Regions from separate parts of the Homo sapiens genome. Here regions 1, 2 and 4 are each linked to region 3. Evidence: promoter capture Hi-C in 16 types of primary human blood cells and fetal thymus (Javierre and others, 2016). All regions are on one chromosome and are shown on one strand. Each heading gives the region's core, a stretch centred on a gene start or on the middle of the fragment in contact. The rest is flanking DNA. Distances are from core to core; before and after follow the strand shown. Region 1 holds the start of ARHGEF1 (Rho guanine nucleotide exchange factor 1). Region 2 holds the start of ERF (ETS2 repressor factor). Region 3 holds the start of PAF1 (PAF1 component of Paf1/RNA polymerase II complex). Region 4 holds the start of RPS19 (ribosomal protein S19).

The links. Contacts are between HindIII fragments. The CHiCAGO score rates a contact against its expected background, and 5 or more counts as called.
Region 1: a contact is called between the fragment with the promoter of ARHGEF1 here and the fragment with the promoter of PAF1 in region 3, in 6 of 17 cell types (total B cells, fetal thymus, total CD8 T cells and 3 more). The highest score is 11.6, in total B cells.
Region 2: a contact is called between the fragment with the promoter of ERF here and the fragment with the promoter of PAF1 in region 3, in 2 of 17 cell types (activated CD4 T cells and fetal thymus). The highest score is 11.0, in activated CD4 T cells.
Region 4: the fragment with the promoter of RPS19 here is called in contact with the fragment with the promoter of PAF1 in region 3 in 6 of 17 cell types (total B cells, fetal thymus, total CD4 T cells and 3 more); the score reaches 8.7 in total B cells.

The regions. Positions count from the first base shown.
Region 1 is chr19:41,881,934-41,884,683 of GRCh38, forward strand. It overlaps ARHGEF1 (Rho guanine nucleotide exchange factor 1), which reads left to right and starts at 1,251. Exons shown (of 29, transcript NM_004706.4): 1 at 1,251-1,356. RefSeq lists silencers at 936-1,445, 2,310-2,459 and an enhancer at 2,326-2,535. The HindIII fragment of the contact is 8,882 bases long and covers 1-2,750 here.
Region 2 is chr19:42,253,703-42,256,402 of GRCh38, forward strand. It overlaps ERF (ETS2 repressor factor), which reads right to left and starts at 1,426. Exons shown (of 4, transcript NM_006494.4): 1 at 1,276-1,426. The coding sequence starts at 1,297. RefSeq lists silencers at 1-47, 168-287, 378-447, 528-1,217, 1,228-1,627 and 1 more and enhancers at 983-1,482, 2,123-2,654. The HindIII fragment of the contact is 3,576 bases long and covers 1-2,700 here.
Region 3 is chr19:39,389,689-39,392,388 of GRCh38, forward strand. PAF1 (PAF1 component of Paf1/RNA polymerase II complex) reads right to left here and starts at 1,418. Exons shown (of 14, transcript NM_019088.4): 1 at 1,130-1,418; 2 at 572-601; 3 at 381-473; 4 at 1-73. The coding sequence starts at 1,176. It overlaps MED29 (mediator complex subunit 29), which reads left to right and starts at 1,690. Exons shown (of 4, transcript NM_017592.4): 1 at 1,690-1,950. The coding sequence starts at 1,735. It also overlaps a transcript of SAMD4B not described here. RefSeq lists a silencer at 76-207 and an enhancer at 1,745-2,034. The HindIII fragment of the contact is 958 bases long and covers 797-1,754 here.
Region 4 is chr19:41,859,002-41,861,868 of GRCh38, forward strand. RPS19 (ribosomal protein S19) reads left to right here and starts at 1,254. Exons shown (of 6, transcript NM_001022.4): 1 at 1,254-1,288; 2 at 1,774-1,844; 3 at 2,111-2,211. The coding sequence starts at 1,774. RefSeq lists an enhancer at 957-1,712 and silencers at 1,266-1,395, 1,456-1,575. The HindIII fragment of the contact is 18,374 bases long and covers 1-2,867 here.

The DNA of each region.
Region 1 (2,750 bases), core at 1-2,500, 2.5 Mb after region 3:
CCGGCCGCTTTTTTTTTTTTTTTTTTTTTTTTTGAGGCAGAGTCTGACTCTGTCGCCCAGGCTGGAGTGCAGTGGCGCAATCTCAGCCCACTTCAACCTCCACCTCAAGCGATTCTTGTACCTCAGGCTCCCGAGTAGCTGGGATGACAGGCATGTGCTACCACACCCAGCTAATTTTTGTTTTAGTAGAGACAGGGTTTCGCCATGTTGGCCGGGCTGGTCTCGAACTCCTGACCTCAAGTGATCCACCATGCTTCGGCCTCCCAAAGTGCTGGGATTACAGGCATGAGCCACTTTATGCGTATTTAAGCCTTGGAAACACAGGGACTATCTTGTGGATTGGGGCTAGTACAGAATTCAGACTGCAGCCTTTTCCCGATGCGTTGACTTACAGAAGGGGCATTTTGGAGGGTCTGTGGTCCTAACCTGGGGATAGCAGGGAGATCCCGGGGCAATGACAGAGAGGCACAGAGACACGGATTTCCTGAGAAAGGGAGAGGAGAGAGGCTGAGACCCAGGGATCATGAAGGGGACGAGCAAGGGAAGGAAGAGATGATGAGACCCTGGGAATCCGGGAGAGAGACAGGGACGTGGAGAGAAAGGGACAGAGAGAGAGCGAGAAGGAAAGGAAGAGACAGAAGGGAGAAGGGGCAACCGAAAATGGGCACGAAGAGGCCCAGGCACAGCAACAGCTGGGGAAATGACAGAGACTGAGACGGAGATGCAGAAAGATACAGAGAGAGCTGGAGAGGGTAGAGAAGGGCTTTCGGGGAGAAAGTGATGGAGGGACAGAGAGGAGAGGTGGAGGCCAAGGAGGGAAAGACCCCAGTAGAGAAAGACAGAGGGACAGAGAAGGGGATGCAGACGCAGGCGGGAGCACACCCACAGAGGCGAAGGAAGGGCGCAAGACCATGAGAACCACAGACGCGGAAAGCCGGGGAGGTCGTGGCTCGGTCTAGGGCGCACGGGGAGCAGGGCTTGCCCCCCAGCACCTCCGGGGAGGTGACCCCAGCCGGGAGATGCGAGTCCCGCGGAGCCCGCGCCCGGCGGACGGACCGATGGACAAAGCCGGGGAGAGCTCGGGCGCGGCCGGGGCGGGGGCCGGTGCCCGCAGGGACCCGGGCGCAGCGGGGAAAGGAGGGGCGGGCAAGCGGCGAGAAGGGGAAGGAAGCGGAGGTGCCGGGCGGGCGCGGGGCGCGGGCAGGAAGCGGGGAGGGGCGGCGGGGCGGGGGCCTCCGGAAAAACGCCCCGACTTCCTGCCCCGCCAGAGCCAGGAAGCGGGAGCCGGGACCCAGGGCCCGGGATCGCCGAGCCCGACCTCGGGCGCCCCGCCGGTCACCTCCGCGCGGACACCAGGTACTCGGTCCCCGGCCCCGCCCGGCCTCCTCCCCTCGGCTGTTGGGGGAAGTGGGGAGGAGGAGGGAGGGGCTGGGGCGCTGCCGGCAGCGGAGGGGCCCCCTTCGGACCCCACGGAACCAGCGGCCGCCCCTCCTTGGGCCTCAGTTTTCCCATCTGTCAAAGGGAGCAAAGAGGGGAGAACTCACACTTGACGAGTGCCCCATAGGTGGGGACGAACGGTGCGAGGCCGGGGCCAAGGCCTCCCACCTGCTCAGTGGAGAACGGACGATCACTACCATTGTACGGGTGGGGAAACCGAGGCCCGGGGAGCCAAACCGACTCGTCCCAGGGAACGCACATCGTGAGAAAGTGTGGAGTTGGGATTTGAACTCGCACGTGCTTTCCGCAAAGCGCCATCCTCCAACCCCCGCATGCTTTAGGGCCACCTAAAAATGAAAAACAACAATAACAACAACGACGAGGGTCGCTGTGAAGCTGAAAGTTGCAGAGTGCATTTGAAAGAGTTTTCGGAAAGCTCTTTTCTAGGTCATTAATTATACCGTGAGAGACAGGTGTAGGGAGAGAGCTGGAGGCCTTCTCCCATTGTACGGATGGGAAGACTGAGGTCTACAGAGAAGTCATTACTTTTTGCAGATTACACTGCATGTCAGAGGGAAAGTTGTGCTGGAACTCAAGACTATTGCTTTTCCGGTTCCAAAGGAAGGGGCTGGGGGTGGGAGACGGAGGGGATTGATGTACGAGGATTGGAAATTCAGCGGGTCCCCTAAGTGGGGAGACTAATAGGACGGGGAGCCCCAGTCCGCCGTCCGAGTGCTCAGCGCTGGGGTGACTAGGAGATCTCCGATCGAACTCGGGAGGAGTTGGACCCATCTGCACCTCCGGGCGCGGGGCGGGGCCCGGGGAGTGACGGGGGCAGTCGAGATACGGAAACGCTGGCCCTCCAAGACAGGCCAGAGCGGCCCTATCTGGCCTGCGTGGCGCAGTACAGCGCTAGAGCGGCCGGCGGGAGGAGTAGAGTCGTCGGGGCCGGAGCCCGGCAGGAGCCGGGCTAGAGCGGCTGGCAGGAGGAGTGGAGCTGGGCGCAAAGGTGGACTCAGGGCGGCTAGAGCGACGCGGCGGCAGGGGTGGGGAGAGTGCGGAGCCCGAGCGCGGAGGCTTCGGTTCCGGTGGCGGCGATGGCTTCTCTTTCCACCTGGAGCAGGTGAGGGACGCGGTCCCCAGCGGGTGTCAGACCCTGACTCTGCACGTCCTCCCCGGCATCCCTGGCCGTGCACACTGCCACGTCCCCCGTAGGATTTAGGGCCCGCGTAAGACCCGCCACGTCCATGTAAGATTTGGGTCTCGTGTAGACCCGCCTCATTCCGTATAAAGTCTTACAGACCCTCCAGGTT
Region 2 (2,700 bases), core at 176-2,675, 2.9 Mb after region 3:
ATCCCCTGGCGCCGGATCCCAGCTCGGAGCCCTTTAAGATTAAGCCGCCCCCACCCGCCGAGCAGGGGGATGGGGATGGGAATGGGGTGGGAATGGGGTGGGGATGGGGTGGGGTGGGTGGGCCGGTCGGGGCACACACCCGCACACAGGAGCCCGAGCCGCCGCCGCCGCCGCCGCCGCCGCCGGGGGAAGGAAACAAGTTTGAACAGCGGCGCCCGGCCCCCTTCCCCCTCCCCCGTCCCCGCCCCGGGCCGGATTCCGACGGGGTAGACGGGCAGGGGGCGGCTGGGACCCCTCCCCCTGCGCGCTCGGGCGCAAAGTCCAGCCCGCGCGAGCCCGGGGGCGGCGGGGGAGGGGAGGGGGAAAAGTCCGAGTGGGAGGGGGAGTTAATCCCGCTGCCCCCCGCCCGCCGACCGAGGGGGAGGGGAACCTTGGCCCCTTAAGGAGGAGCAAGTTGGCGGGGAAGAGAGGGGCGGAGGGAAGAGACGGCCCGCTGAAAGAGAAGAGGTGGATCCGGGAGGGGGGGCGAGGGGGGAGCCTCTGCGTCTCCCCCCACCTTCCCCACCCTCCTCAACCCCGGGCCACCGGTGGCGCGGGAGGAGGGTACCCAGGTCTCCCCGGAGCCACCTTAAAGCCGCGCGTTCTAAGGTCGGAAACAAAAAGTTCCTTTTTCGAACGTTCGGGCTGCGCTTTGGAACTTTGCGACTCGGCGAGGGCGGGGGAGCGAGGAGCCGACAGAGGCGGGCGGGGGAGGGGCGGCGCAGCCAGGACCCCGAGTCCCGGGCTCCCCACTCACGCCCTCCTCCTAGAGGCCATCCCGTATCCCCCGCTAACCTGGTGCAGGGCACGCGCCGCCGTGAAGGTCACCAGCAGGACCGCGCAGCGCAGAACCAGGGATAGCGGGCCCGGTGGACGAGCCCCCCCGCCCCGCACACGTCCCGGCCCCCAGAGTGCAACGTGACAAGAGCGGAGGGGAAGGACCCCGCCACCCCCGTGATCCCGGGAGTGGGGGAGAGCCCGGCCTGCGGGGTCCCGGTAGGGATACAGGACCAAGACCCGCAGCACCCACACCACTCCGCCCGGAGCCAGGAATCGGGGGTCCCAGGCAGCAACCCCGCTCGCGCCACGAGAAGCAACAGGTCTCCAGTGCTTGAGGGGTCCCCCAGAACTGGGGATCACTCGGGCTCCCCCGGACCCCTTCAGCCCCCCCAAAGTTTCTCCGTTCGGTTTCCCGGGGCAACAAGTCTCCCCCACACGTGCTGCCCCCGCCCCCACCTGTGTCCGCCGGGGTCTTCATGCTGGGGGGCCCGGGGCGAAGCGCCCCGATTCCGGGCCGCGGCTCCCGGCGCCCTCGCTGCCCCGTCCCGTCCCGCGCCCGTCGGGCCGCCCTCGCCGCCTCACCCGGCCTCGCCTCTCAGAGCCTCTCCCCTCCCCGCCGCCGCCTCCCGGGTTAATATCGCACTCCGGGGCCGGGACGCCCACGCCCCCCGGCCGGCGACGTCACCGCCGCGTCGCCATGGAGACACTGCGCCCGCCCCCTCCCCGCGCACTCACACACACGCTCGTCGGCGCGCAGCCACTGAGGACCGGCCGGCTCTGGGCTTAAAGGGGCCGCGCGGCGGGGGAGGGAGGAAGGAGGGGGTGGGGGTGGGATGGGGTCCCGCGGGTCATGACCCTAGTCAGAGGCTCCGAGTCTGCAGCTAACTTAAGTCTTCGGCACTCGCTACCTGCTGCCCCTCCTCCTCTCCTGCCCACTGCGGGCTCCAGAGTTTCTTTTGGGAGCCTGTATGGGAAAACGGGGGGCCCTTCCGAGGAAGCGGGGGTCAGAAACTTTTGTGGGGAGGGGGCAGAATCTTCTCTGCAGAGGGGCGGGGTCAGGACCTTAGAAGATGATGAAGACCACAGCATTTCCCAGCTTGGTTTTACCCAACCCCCCAACCCTGAGCCTGAATGGGGGCAGCTGTCCAGGGGTGGGGTGGAATGGGTGGGATGCATTTCCCAGCATCGGAAATGGGGAGGCGGCTGTGCCCTCCGCTCCTGTGGGGATGGGGTCTTGGCTTCCCTGATAACCCCCGTCCAGCTGGGGAGGAAGTGACCAGAGAGAATGCATTTGGAAGCCCCCACCACCACCGTCCCCAGGCTGCAGCTGTCCCGGGGATAGGGCTGGCGCCGGAGGTCCCCCCACGTCCACTACTAGGACCGGGGGTTCCGGAGGCGGGGCCGGGATACGAGGGGGCGACCAAAGTCTGAACAAATGTGCTCCCAAGGGGCACTGAGGGTCGCCAGGAGAGAGGAAGACAGGGCTTAAGATCGAAAGCCAGAGCGTAGAGAAGTGTTAAGTCTCCGTTCTCTGCCTCAGCCGGGAGGGAAGGATGAAGCCTGAGGCTCTGGGAAACAGGAAATCACAGCGCAGATCTGATGGAGCCCAGGAGCCGGCAGCAGGGTAGAGGCCAAATAGAAGCAATATTCACAGGCATAGCCTGGAAACAGAGTCTCAAAAAAGACTCTGAGGTTCCGAAGGAGGGGCGTATGGGTGGCGGGCGGGAGTTGGGGGGGCTGGGTGGGGGACGAATCCAGAAGATGGGCGGGGAGACAGAAAAGTCACAGATAGGGAAGGCCTGCGGAGCTCAGGCTCCCGGTACCCAGGGCTTCAATCCCAGCCTCCTCGCTTGCGGGGTACCTAGTCCACCTTAGACAGGC
Region 3 (2,700 bases), core at 168-2,667:
CCCCAGGTCTGGCTCAGTCAGGAGGTCATGTTTGTGCTGTTTCTCCAAGGAAGTGGCTTTGTACTGGACGAACCTGGGTGGGGAAACACCTATTGTGGTGTTTGGATTCCAGCTTCACCCCTCACAGCCCTGCTTCCCAGAGGCGGAGCTTCTCTGGGGAGGAACTCAGAATGAAGTGTCCCCCATGGCAGAGTCTGAAAGCTGGCTCCCCAGTGGGAAGGGACTTGGACACTGCTTGCTCCATTAACAATTGAGCAGCTACTACTATGTGCTAGGGTAGGTACTGTGCTAGGCCCTGAGCAGACAGCAGCCAACGAGACAAGCAGTCCCTGCCTTCAAGGAACTCATACCTGAGTAGTTTTCCCATTCCTTAGTCTCACCTGTTCTGGTCGAAGGGGTAGGTGATGAACTTGGGGTCGAAGGGGATATCAGGGAGGCTATTGCAGTACTTGACTCGGCAGACCACTCCAGACCTAGGAACATTAGTGGCTCAAAAGTGGGCCCCCGCTGCCCCACCTCTGCTCCCAGCCCCACTGCCCCACCGCTCCTGGGAAAGCACAGTGGGGCTCACCTCTCAGGCAGAGTCCGGTGGGAATTGGGCCTAGTGGAGAAGAAAGAAACAGTGATAGGTGGAGAGGACGGGATTGACAGGAGAATGAAAAAGGCTTCCCCAACCTTTCAAAAGGTAGGAGGGGTGACAAATGCTGGTTTCTTTGGGTGGTGGTGTGGGGAGTGTCCAAATGCTTTAATGGAAGGAGACAAATGTTCAATTTATTTAGGAAGAAATGCCCCCAAAAGCTTTAATGAACAAGGCCAAGTGCTCAATCCCTTTTGCAGGAGATGGCTTCAAGTGCTTTAATAAAGAACCATGTACTCAATCGTCTTCGGAAGAGGGGTCTCCAAACGGTTGACTGGAGGGATCCCTTCTGGAGGGAGTCTCCAAAAGCCTAATCCCTGAACTGCACGGCGGGGAGGAGGGGAACACCTGAATCTCAGAAGGAACCCGCCCCCTTCGTCAAAGGTGAGCGCTTCATGACGTCACGGGCAGACCTGGGGGCTGGTGACGTTGTTCAGCAGAAACCCTCTCCCGATCCCCCGCCTTGCTGCAACAGAAAAGCGTGGCGCCTACCTGTGGCCATCCTCCCGCTGGGCCTGGGTCTGGATGGTGGGCGCCATAGCGACGAGGCGACGGCAGCCCGGACGGGGTCCTAGCGGGACCGAAGGGGGACGCAGAGGGGCGTGCCGACTTCAGGGGACGCCTGATCCGAGGAAGGCCCAGCTTGGCGCCGCTCCCCGCGGAAAGTGGGTTGAGATGAGGTGGGCGGGCGAGAAGAGCTCCAGCGAGACTCAGGTGAACGCGCAGGCAGCACCGGGGACGGACTCGAAGCTCCGGTTCCACCAACTGCCGCCAAGACGCTGAGGACCCAACGGGTCTCCTCAGGCCGCGACGCCTTCGGGGAAATGAAGTCCGGCTCGGAACCACACACGGATTGGCGAGCGTCTGGGTGAAGGGCGGAGCGAGGGAGAGAGGTGCTTCTGTGATTGGTGGAGAGATATCTCAGTCTGGACGCAGATTTGAGAGTGACGTAACGTTGGGGCACCTCCTTCCCCTCCATTGGCTTAATTGCCTAGGGGGCGGGACTAACTAGCAAACGGGGACTAGAAATAGGGATGCTGAAAAGCAACGGGGAGAGACGCAGTCGTAACGCACTTCCGGCGGTCTACGCGAGGAAGATGGCTGCATCCCAGCAGCAAGCTTCAGCGGCTTCCTCAGCTGCTGGTGTATCGGGTCCTAGTTCGGCTGGCGGCCCGGGTCCCCAGCAGCAGCCGCAACCGCCAGCACAACTGGTGGGCCCTGCCCAGAGCGGCCTCCTGCAGCAACAGCAACAGGACTTCGATCCTGTGCAGCGTTATAAGATGCTCATCCCGCAGCTGAAGGAGAGTCTACAGGTGATTGGCCTTAAGCAGCGAGAAGCAAACTGGATTTGGTAGTCTAGAGGGGCAGGCCGAGGGCCAGGTTAGTCGGAGAGAGCGCTAAGCAGAAAGAGGAATAGAACCTGCTGTTTTGGCCTGGCTGGTGCACGCCTGTGTTCCCAGCACTTTGGGAGGCCGAGGCGGGCGGATCACTTGAGGTCAGGAGTTCAAGACCAGCCTGGTGAAACCTCGTCTCTACTAAAAATACAAAAATTAGCCGGGCATGGTGGCGCGCGCCTGTAATTACAGCTACTCGGGAAGCTGAGGCAGGAGAATCGCTTGAACCCAGGAGGCGGAGGTTGCAGTGAGCCGACATCGTGCCATTGCACTCCAGCCTGGGCAACAGAGCGAGACTCCGTCAAAAAAATAAATAAATAAATAAATAAAACTGTTGTTTTCTGCGAGACCTAAGCGAAGCTCGGCAGAGATGGGATCAGCGCTGATGCTGAGGCTGGGACTGGCCGGAGCTTGAGTGAGGGGTTGTTTAAAGGAGAAACTGGGCTCTGGTCGTTAAAGCCTGAGGAGAGTACTGGCTTATACGGAGATTCTGCCCTTGATTGATAGGTGAGGGAGGACCCTTAGGTTATTGGCGAGAAGCTCAGGTGAGAGCGGGCCTCTGGGAGGATGGAGTGGTGACAGCTATAGGAATGGAAACGAATATTACTTTGGAAAGTCAGGAGGGAAGGTGCCAGTTGAAAAGAAAACCTGAGACTGAGTGATCTCAAG
Region 4 (2,867 bases), core at 4-2,503, 2.5 Mb after region 3:
AATGTAAAACCTTGATTTAAATATATGATCTTATGCTAGAAGCATGGTTGGTTTTAATTTTTCTAACAGATACGAGTCTTGGCTTATTAATAATTAACACATTTTGCAGCCACAGTATCAGTGTGGGGTAAAATTCTAATATTTGCTCTTATGTTTTAAATTCTCAGTCTTTCCAACATAAGAAAATAGCTACACACATTTCAGTGTTTCCTTTTTGCAACAAGTTAACATAATTTTATTGGACCACGTTATTTAGTTGTTGGGCCTTGTAAGGATTAAATGAGATCATGCATGTAACACTACAGTAACAGCCACATGATAAATGTCCAAATAATATTTACCTGTGCCTGGCACAGAGCAGGCACTCAAAAAATATTTTTTAGAGCATGTGACGCGCCATGAACCAGAGGAGCCACTTTAAATGGACAAACGGGGATCTCATTTTTTTTTTTTTTTTTTAATGGTGAGACAAGCCCTGAGAAGGCAAATGGACTGCCTAAAGCTACACAGGTCAGCGGGGCAGGTAAATCTAAATTGGCAAAGTAAGGGCTGAGCGAACAGACTCCGACACTAGAAGGCAGAGCTGAACTAACTTCTGCTAAGGTCCCGCCTCTGCCGCTTTGTCCCGCCCTTATCTTCTCCCCTCCTCCAGCGCCTCATTCCCTTTTCGCTCGCCCCGGCCGTGCTGAAGCAACTTCCGCCCTGAGAAGGGTGGGGCTTCCGTCTCCCGCTCTCGCGACTCCTGGCGGTGAAGGACGGAAGATGATAGCCACATTTCTTCCTCGCCCTTCCCCTAGGTTCCCTGTCACAGTTCCGCCCTTACTACTCCCACTTCCGGCCAGGGAACAGCCACTTCCACCCGGAAAAGGGGTTGTTCCGCCGTGGGGCGCCAGCTGTGGCCCACCCATCCTGCCCCGTACTTTCGCCATCATAGTATTCTCCACCACTGTTCCTTCCAGCCACGAACGACGCAAACGAAGCCAAGTTCCCCCAGCTCCGAACAGGAGCTCTCTATCCTCTCTCTATTACACTCCGGGAGAAGGAAACGCGGGAGGAAACCCAGGCCTCCACGCGCGACCCCTTGGCCCTCCCCTTTACCTCTCCACCCCTCACTAGACACCCTCCCCTCTAGGCGGGGACGAACTTTCGCCCTGAGAGAGGCGGAGCCTCAGCGTCTACCCTCGCTCTCGCGAGCTTTCGGAACTCTCGCGAGACCCTACGCCCGACTTGTGCGCCCGGGAAACCCCGTCGTTCCCTTTCCCCTGGCTGGCAGCGCGGAGGCCGCACGGTAAGCGGGGGCTCCGAGCTGGACCGGGCGCGAGGCGGCAGGGCCGGACGCCGAAGCCTCAGAGCGCGTGCCTGAGGGCCCCGAGGCGCCCGGCGCGGGCCCGTCCCGCCCCCTAGAGCCGCGGCCACGTGCGAGCGGCAGGCCCGGACATGCCCGGTCAGCGCCGTCCGGGAACCGAGCGTGGGCCCCGGGGGGCAGCGGCGGGGTGCGTGGGGCGTCCGGAGTCCCGGGGCTGGGGAGTGGGGTCGCGCAGGATCCTCACACGCAGGGGCCGGGCTCTGTTAGTGCGATCCAGAGAGGCCGTGGGCGTCGGTGAGCTCCTTCAGACCCGCAGGAGCCGGAGCCCGGCGTTGAAGGGGCCGTGGGAAGTAACGGGGGGTACCACGGTTTAGGATGCGCTGGAGCGAAAGGATTGGGGTGGGGTCCGTGCTCTTGGCAGTCGTCTCTGCCAGGCCTGTGTTCACATGCTTGACTTTCTCCCTCAGATGCCTGGAGTTACTGTAAAAGACGTGAACCAGCAGGAGTTCGTCAGAGCTCTGGCAGCCTTCCTCAAAAAGTGAGTTTGGGGACTGAGGTTCAAAACGGGTGGAGGCTGTCGCCTTGGCCTGCCCATCTGAGCCCCAGTGTTTGCCGGTCCCTGGCAGGCGAGGCTTGTTTGGGGCCTCCGTGGCTCCTTTCAGCGTGAGGCCTGGCTTGTGTTCCGGTTCCAGCCTCTCTTTGTACTCTGGGCACAGCATAGTTGTGTTGAGGGGAGGGCATTTGGGATATGGGGTAGTTTGTGGAGATGACTGAATCGTGCTTTTCCCACTGTTTTGGTCTTAGGTCCGGGAAGCTGAAAGTCCCCGAATGGGTGGATACCGTCAAGCTGGCCAAGCACAAAGAGCTTGCTCCCTACGATGAGAACTGGTTCTACACGCGAGCTGGTGAGGAACTTAGGTCTTTGGCTGGAGAGTGGGGAGCTGGGTGACCCCTGGCACAAACCATACTTCCCTGTCTCCTCTGAGCTCTTTCCCGCCCCAAGAGGGAGAGAAACCCTTGGTTGTGTCACCACTTGCTTTGTGTGATGTGACATTCGATAACTTGGTACTCCAAGTTTTTATGACATTCTAAGAGCTTTGTGAGAGGAGGACCTGTGGCTTTGAGCCTCAGGGGAAACCAGAGACAGATGAATGTTCATATTTTGCTTACAGGTGGTTTAATCCTTTCTATATACACGGAGGCAGACTCCCTGGGTTTGGATCCATCTTTTACATCTGGCTGTGTGTCCTCTGGCAAGTTGGTTAACCTGCCTGTGCACTCTCTCATCCCCAAAATGGGACTAATTATTGTACCAGTACTAGAGTATTGCAAGGATTGAATGAATTTAAAGCAGAGTGTTTAGAACGTGTCTGTTGCACAGTAGTTATTCAGGAAAAAGCCAGTTGTCTTTACTATTGCTCAGATCATCAAGTTAGCCTTCTCCATATCTCTAACAGGCTGTTTCTAACTAAATGGTTGGAGATCTGGCCAGGTCAGTCCCTGCTTTAAATCTTGACTTCTGATCTTATGGACACCCTGCAACCTCGTGCCAGCCCCGTCT